2 separate regions of the Homo sapiens genome follow, and region 1 is linked to region 2. The links are contacts of gene promoters, found by promoter capture Hi-C in blood cells and fetal thymus (Javierre and others, 2016). All regions are on one chromosome and are shown on one strand. Each heading gives the region's core, a stretch centred on a gene start or on the middle of the fragment in contact. The rest is flanking DNA. Distances are from core to core; before and after follow the strand shown.

What was found. The method cuts DNA at HindIII sites, captures the fragments that hold promoters and counts their contacts. A CHiCAGO score of 5 or more calls a contact.
Region 1: a contact is called between a fragment that was not itself captured here and the fragment with the promoter of TBCEL in region 2, in 1 of 17 cell types (total CD4 T cells). The highest score is 5.2, in total CD4 T cells.

Annotation. Positions count from the first base shown.
Region 1 is chr11:120,333,137-120,337,244 of GRCh38, forward strand. TLCD5 (TLC domain containing 5) reads left to right here. Exons shown (of 3, transcript NM_001198671.2): 3 at 1-550. It overlaps ARHGEF12 (Rho guanine nucleotide exchange factor 12), which reads left to right and starts at 3,277. Exons shown (of 41, transcript NM_015313.3): 1 at 3,277-4,108. The coding sequence starts at 4,108. RefSeq lists a silencer at 2,864-3,733. The HindIII fragment of the contact is 153 bases long and covers 1,281-1,433 here.
Region 2 is chr11:121,021,884-121,026,069 of GRCh38, forward strand. TBCEL (tubulin folding cofactor E like) reads left to right here and starts at 2,219. Exons shown (of 9, transcript NM_001363644.2): 1 at 2,219-2,408. It overlaps TBCEL-TECTA (TBCEL-TECTA readthrough), which reads left to right and starts at 2,219. Exons shown (of 30, transcript NM_001378761.1): 1 at 2,219-2,408. RefSeq lists silencers at 2,033-2,182, 2,203-2,472. The HindIII fragment of the contact is 3,156 bases long and covers 641-3,796 here.

The DNA of each region.
Region 1 (4,108 bases), core at 107-2,606, 690 kb before region 2:
GCTGATTTTAGCAAAAGCTTGTAGAAAAGAGTGGCCTGGCACATGAGCTTAAAAAAAAGAAAAAAAGCTGGCTCTTGAATTTTGGCACAGTGCAACCTGTTCCATACCAGACAAATGAACAGGCTTAATCTGGTACCAATTCTTTTTCTCTCTTACTCCTCAGAAGTGAAGGGACTGCAGATCTTGTTGTTTTGGGGACACTTTCATGGAACTGTATGTAGGTTTTTTTGAATGGTGAGAAATCTGAATAATTGGTAAGGGGAAGGGAATCCCTCATTTCAGCTTTTCTTGATGTTGTTACTAATAACTATGAAAAAACTTCTGAGAGAACAATGTGAACTGAAGATGACTCAGCAGTTAAGACAATGCTAAGTTCTGAAACCACAGGTAAATGAAGGGCTAATTAATGTGTGGTATACTTGGACAAAATGAAGTACTCATTTGCACTGGATTACTGTGTAATGATAACGAACACTGTTCAAGAACGATTTATATTTCCATAAGATTTGTACTAAATTTTATAAAAGTAAAACAACTTTTTATAAACCCAGAGTCTGTCTTTATATTTATGTGGTGGTTTTGCCAAGAAGTTAAAAAAAGCCTTTTGACCTGTAGAAATGTTGACCTGTATTCATACTTACTAGTGAATATCTCTAATCTGCTGTTCATTATCCATCATTCCCCCTATTTTTTTTTATTTTGGGGGGTAACAGTTGACATACACAAAACAGTTTGCCAAAAGAGAGAGGAAGAACCTTAATGTGTTTCTTGTTCTGCCACCTGTTTGGACACTTGTCTTGAAAATGTTGATGTCAAGTGAGTTGACATCAGAGACATCATCTGAAGACAGCTGGAGGCCCTGTCTTGAGGACTGTACTACCAATGCCTAAAACAGTCTGGGATGCATAGTAGATACTTAGTAAGCATGTTGAAAGAATGGACAAGAGGATGAGAATGTGGTTTAGAATCATCCCCATTGGAAAACCTCCTCAAAGGTTTTCCCAGTGGATTGGGTCATCAATGTCATTTTTCTAAGTAAAGTACTACGGACCCTGAGGAGTGTGTTCTACCCAGACTGGCTTGACTTTCTGAAGGCATCCTATAGTTACAGCCTTTAGAACAGTTGAGCTATCGGCAGCTTTAAAGAGGCTTTCAGTTTTTTTTTTTTTTAAATCATTAATGCTTTGTAGGTGACTATAGAGATTTTCATCATTTAAAAAAATTAGTTCTGGAATGAATAACCACTGGCTTAATTCAATCTTTTGCTTACCATCTTCTGAAGCTTTCCCACAGCAAAATGCCTTCTTTGCTCACAGCTAGAACCGTGGGTCTGTTTAAGTTTGGAAAGATCTTGAAAGCAGCTTGCCAAGAGGTTTTGTATGCAAGGAAGAGAAGGTGAATTAGGAAACTTTCCCAGTTTGTTTTATTCCTGAAGCTTAAGTATTGAGGCTTCCCTCAAGTATTAAGGGAAGAGAGGAACTCCAAAATGCATGATTTGATGAGTCATTGGGTTCAATTAATTTTATACTTACACTGTAACATTATTAGGATAGGGGAAAATAAGATATTTAGTACTTTTAAGAAAGATTTATTAAGTTTGGGGATAAGGTTTGCATTTTGGTCAGTATATATATGTATATATGTGTGTATATATATGTGTATATATATGTATATATATGTGTATATATGTATATATGTGTGTATATGTGTATATGTGTGTGTGTGTGTATATATATATATATATATATATATATATATATATATATGAATGGGATTCCTTCCGGTTGCATGTAAACACTCAATTTAAGAGTCTTCAGGGTAGAATTGTCATGCTAGAATACACCAGCAGGTGGCAATGTGTCCTGGTCTCATCATTAGGGAAGTGCCTTGGCTAATCTGCTTCTATTCTTTCCAAAAATAAACATTACAAAATTAGTTGGCTGTGCCTTGAACCTAAAAAATCGAGCAATAAAGAGTCGTCTCTGGTCTCTGTTTATCTTTTCCTTTTTTTCCCCCCCGTTCTAACTAACGTCAGCGTGAGCTCATGCCTCTATTCGGGGATAATGATCCTTTCATGAACTGTTGCGGAATGACTTTTTGCAACAGCATTGTTAAGAGGTAATTGTTTCCTCTCTCCACATCCACTGTTTATTAGATTTGATTTGCTACTTGGATTCCACAAAATGGCTGAAATCCCTTGTCACCAACATAGGTTTAAGCTCAAAAGTCTGAAAATAGTTGGATAAAGGGAATAGCCACTTTGGATGTTTGCAGGCAGAACTGAAGAACTGTATTACATGTGGTACCTAAATTGCCAAAATACTGAATTATTCAATCATAAAACTAGATGGGTATCTAAAGCTCTCTACCCAGTAGGGGAAAAAACCGAAAAACCGTTTGGGAATCCTTCAGAGAGAACCGTAATGCTATTTACTGGATAAATATACTTCATTTTCTTCTCCCAGTTCTTTCCACAACACGCTTGTTAAGTCGCCATGGAAAGCACCATGCTTTATCAATTTGGCAAATAACACATTTCATTTTGCCAAGGCAGAAACAGCCTAAAAGTAATATTTATACCGAGAAACCCTGGCTGCAGTCCCCAGCTGCTCTCCCGCAGCCCTGCGCCTCCGGCTCATGCAGCGCTCTCCCCCCGGAGCCGGCAGGTGCCCAGGTGAGCGGGGCCTGCGGAGGCAGCGAGGGGCGCCGGCCGGGAACCGGCAGAACGCGTGCAGCCAGAAGACAGGAGAGATAATACATTCCCTTAAGTAATAAAAGTTTCCAGGACAAGGGGGGCTGGTAATTTTCAAAGAGCCTCCCGGCACGATGTCCTCGGGATCTGGGGGGCGCTCTCGGGCGGTCTCTGGTGAAAGTCGACTTAGTACAAACTGGACTCGAAGGGGCATGTCTCGGCACTCAGGGGCCCAGGCGCCGCGGGAGGTGGGTGGGCCTCCCGGGGCTGCACGGGTCCCACCTCCCTCTGCCCCGTAGGACTACTTTGCCGCTCTCCCAAACCGGGCTCCGGCGGAGGCGTCCGTTCAAGGGCGAGAGCGCGGCCCTGAGCGGCGGAGGGATCCCGGGTGAGGCGGCTTCCCGAAGTCAGAGGGGAGGGGGCCATAAAGTCGGCGGGGGACGGGAAGCGCGAGCTCGCGCCGGACGCGGCCAGGGCCGGGAAACCAGAACCGGAACCGGAACCCGCGCGCGCGCCCGCGGTTGCGCGGCCCCCACGGCCGCCGGCCTCCTCCGCTGTCTGCGCGCGCGCCCGCGAGGGCCTCCAGAACCCGGCGAGCCGGCCCTGCGCCGGGAGACGCCGCCGCCTCCGCCTCCCGGACCAGGGCTTCCAGGCCGGGCCGGACGGGCATCTCCCGCCCCTCGCGGGGAGCGTCGGGGAGGAGCCGCCGCCTCTGGCGATTGCGGAAGAGTCCGGGCCTCAAAGGGATGGGGAGCAGTCCGCGGCGCTGAGAGACCCGGGTCCCTGTCACCTCGGGCCGCGGGACCTCTCCGCCGGCGCCAGCGGCTCGTCCCAGCACCGGGAGCCTGGTGAGGGCGGCGAGCACAGAAGGAGCCCCGGGCCCGGGACATGGAATCGCGCGAGCCCGGCGCGGGACGGCCGGAGACGCGGCCAACGCTGCGGCCACGAGCAGCCGGCAGCCCCAGATAGAGAGCCGGGAGGGAGGGCCCCGGCCCTTGCCGCGGCGGGGAGTTCGAGGCCCCGAGACTCCGGAGGAGGAGCCGACACCCGTCCGTGAGCTGATCCCGCCCCAGCCCCGGCGGGAGTCCCGGGTCCCCTTCCCACTGCGCGCGGATTTCCCTCTCTGAGGAAGTTTATCCTTGTGCCTTCTGGAGGATTTCTCTCTAGCTCGACTCACTCTGGACTGACTCGCTCCCTGGCTTTCTCAGTTCGTTTTGGGAGATAACTTGTTTTGCTCCAAGCCGCATCCGTTGACCCCTTACAGTCGGATGGTCTAGATGACTGAATGGAGTTTTGAGTTGGACTTTTGTGTCCCTGACGGAGTTGGGCCTGATCCCAGAGCACTGGGGGTGGGGAGGAGGTGTTACTGTAAAATGCAAGTTGGATAAAAGGAGGACCTCTCGCCAAGGGCCCCAA
Region 2 (4,186 bases), core at 969-3,468:
GCTGCCTTCCCGCGGGGCAGGGCTCGGGACCTGCAGCCCGCCGTGCCTGAGCCTCCCACCCCCTCCATGGGCTCCCGTGCGACCCGAGCCTCCCCGATGAGCGCCGCCCCCTGCTCCACGGCGCCCAGTCACTTCCACCACCCAAGGGCTGAGGAGTGCGGGCGCACGGCGCGGGACTGGCAGGCAGCTCCACCTGCAGCCCCGGTGCGGGATCCACTGGGTGAAGCCAGTTGGGCTCTTGAGTCTGGTAGGGACGTGTACAACTTTTATGTCTAGCTCAGGGATTGTAAATACACCAATCGGCACTCTGTATCTAGCTCAAGGTTTGCAAACACACCAATCAGCACCCTGTGTCTAGCTCAGGATTTGTGAATGCACCAATGGACACTCTGTATCTAGCTACTCTGGTGGGGACTTGGAGAACCTTTGTGTGGACACTCTGTATCTAGCTAATCTGGTGGGGAGGTGGAGAACCTTTTGTCTAGCTCAGGGATTGTAAATGCACCAATCAGCGCCCTGTCAAAACAGACCACTCGGCTCTACCAATCAGCAGGATGCGGGTGGGGCCAGATAAGAGAATAAAAGCAGGCTGCCCGAGCCAGCAGTGGCAACCCGCTCGGGTCCCTTTCCACACTGTGGAAGCTTTGTTCTTTTGCTCTTTTCAATAAATCTTAGTACTGCTCACTCTTTGGGTCCACACTGCTTTTATGAGCTGTAACACTCACCGCGAAGGTCTGCAGCTTCACTCCGGAGCCAGCGAGACCACTAACCCACCAGAAGGAAGAAACTCCGGACGCATCCGAACATCAGAAGGAAGAAACTCCAGACGCGCCACCTTAAGAGCTGTAGCATTCACCGCGAGGGTCCGCGGCTTCATTCTTGAAGTCAGTGAGACCAAGAACCCACCAATTCCGGACACAATGCTAATGATCTCAGTGCTCTGAAAGCCAGTAATTCTTAAATTGCCAAGAAAGGCACTCTGTTCTCTGTGGAAGGGGGAGTAAAGCCCCTTCCTGAGCAACCTAAGATACAATTCTTGGCTAATCATCCCCTTTATACTCAGAGCAGTTTCTTTACCCATGACCTTCTGGCTTTTTTTTTTCCTCTCTACCCTGTCTAACCCTACCTATGGGATATGAGAAAACAAAACAGAATGACAAAAATAAGTCTCCAGGAACTGATGATGGTAAGGTGCTATTGGGTCTGTCCTAAATAATTTTGTTTCCCCCTTCTAGAAACCAATGCAGACATGCACATGCACATTACATCCCCCACGTCTTTTCTGGCACACACCACACAGAAGCACATACACTTTATGCACAAAGACATCTTCATCTCCTAGCACTTCAGGGGACATTCCCATACAAGGCTGAATTCACTTGGGGTTGAGCCAGCACCACGCCTATTCCATGTATGTTTCTGCAAAAGAAATGGACGAAGGAGTACATAAGCAATCACAGCTCAACAGTCAGATATAGTAATACTATGCATGGAGTTGGAGCAATAGCGTGGCATAAAGTGAAGTGCATGGACCCTGGTGCCAGCCTGACCTGGATTCAAATCTCACCCTGGTCACATTTACTAACTGGGTGGTCTTGGGCAGATCACTTAAGCACTCTGAACTTGTTTTCAATTCTATAAATACCATCTCTTTGGAGGGCTGTAAAAATTAAAAATAGCACATGCGCAGTGCCTGTACCTAGAAAGTGCTCAATAAATGAAAGCTGCTGTTACTACATTGGTGTTGGAAGCTCGGGATGCCACTTGTGAAGGGGGCACAGAAGAAAGGTCAGACTGCCACCATACCCTGAGGGCTCATCTAGTATAGTTCCCTCATTTTATGGTTGAGGACACTGAAGCCAGAGATAGGAAGAGACTTGGTCAAGGTCACACAGCAAATCAGTAACAGAGCCAGGCCAAGATTCCAAGTGTTTCTGGAAAGGTTCAGCCCAATGCTCTTTTCTGCAGCCCCTATTGTCCTCTGATATGACAATGTGTACTCCTGTTCTGCCCCTGGGGATTGTCCACTCAATGGGTGGGCACGAGAAAGAGCAGATGAGGTGTTTGTGGTAAAGCCTAAGCCAGTGCAGCCATCCCCGTCGCCATGGCAACCCCAGCGCGGTTGGGGAGGACCCGCTCCTCCGGCGCCCCCTCCCATTCACGCAGCGGACGTGACACGTGCGGCGGGGTCACGTGTTGTTGTTGGGCCGGGAAAGCTGCTTCCGGGTCAATGCAGGACACTGGGCTCCGGCGGCCAGAGTGGGGGACTAGGTGAAGCGGCGCCGGGCCGGGGCTGGCCGGGACCAGGCCCGAGGCTGAGCGGCGGCGACAGCGGTGGCCGGGAGGGGGGAGGAGAGGCGCAGCCAGAGGAGCCGCCGCAGTAGCTCCCCCGCCTCCCGGGCTGAGGGGTGAGTGGAGCCGGGCCCGCTGGCTCTGCCGGGCTCTCGAGGCCCGAGGCGTTCCCCTCTGGAGCCGAGGCGCGGAGGGTCGCTCCTGCAGGGTGCTGGGATAGGACACTCGGGGAAGGGTGAAAGCCACATGGGGCCTGTCTCGAGCAGCTGTGGGGATGGGAGACCTGCCCTGGGGCTAGAGGGAGGATGGGGCCTGCCTGGCCTGGGCTATGGCGGAGCTGGGAGGGTCTTGGGCTGGGCTGGGCTGGGCTGGGCTGGGGGACTGGTCCCGGGTTGGAGGAGGGCGTGTTGGGGAGCCTGCCCGGGTTCCTGGGAGAATCTAGGCGTCTCACCTTGCCCCAGCGTGGGGGATGGGTAGATGCCTCCCAGCTGTTAGAAGAGGGAGACGTGTCTGGGACTGCTGGGGAAATAGGAAACTTGTCTCTGAACTACTGAATCCCAGAAAAGAGGACATGTCCCCAGGGAGGTTTGCTGGGGGAAGGACGGGCATGTCTAGGCCCTTGGGACATTAGGCCTGCTCTTACCAGGGGCTGATAAAAGGATGTGGATGTGGTAATTGAATAAGGGCTTTTGGGAGAAAAGATTTGCCCCAAGGTTGGGAGACTGAGAACGAGGGTGTTGGACTGACAGGCGGGTGCCTTGTCGTGGGATCTTGGGGGAAGTAAGGATCTGTGTGGAGCTTCTCTGTTGAGTTCTAGGTCCGCTAGTAGGAAGACATTCTGGGAATTGGTGAAGAGAGGAGATTTAATAGTCTTTTCTTGGGACACAGTGATTCCAGAAGTTGTAGTTGAGGAAAGTTGGTTGGAAGTGTTGAACTGTATACAGTCAGTGGAGAAAGGAGGAGCTCTACTGTGAAGGTTGCTAGGCTACAAAGAGCTTGTAGGCAACGCCTAGGGCTGTTGAGAGAAGTTGGTAATGCTTTCAAGTCCAAATACAGGCTGAGCTGGGGCTTGTCCCTTGTTCATGTCATGCTGCTGTGGAGCTCTTACGTTTCCAGTAGTCTATCTTGAGCAAAGAGTATGAATAGGTGCTGAGGACTAAGGAAAACATTCACTCTTTGGGTCCTGAGATGCATTAGACCCAGATCTCTAGGGTGGTAGCTTTCAAACTTAAAAAAAAAAAAATTATGCCCCACAGTAATAAGTATGTCTTACATTCAGATCTAGTACATACGTAGGTATGAAGGGAAACTTTCACAAAGCAGTATTTACCCTTATTATATGTGATATGTTCTGCTAATTTCTATTATATTCCACCCTCTTGCATTAAAAAAAATGCTGGCTGACATTTACTAAATTGATGATTTGTGGGTCACAACTTGCAGTTTGAAAAACACTGTTTCTGAAGCACATTTATTTGGTGTCAATCAGTGTCCTCATTCTGTAAGCTTCTAAAGAGCAGGGATGATTCTAAGGAGATGGATTTTTTTTTTTTTTATTTTATTTTGGCCGGGGGAGAGGGAGGAGGGCAGCTAGGTGCAATTGATTGCTTCGGTTTAGATGTTTATACCACGTAGCATATTTGACCTGTGTTTTCTGAAGGACCATAATCTTGATCTTTAATATCTTGATGTTGCCTGATCATTTGATTGATGAAATTTTTTGTATGCGTGTGTGTTTTAGTTTCCTTTATCCTTTGCTGTGTCTGAGAAATATGAGAGGCCTAGTTCCACTTAGTTGCTTTATCACAACATAGTTAAAGAAATTTTATTTTACTGTTCCAATGTTGTGAAGATACACTGATTTTCTTTTCTGCTATTTAAAAACATCCCAAAT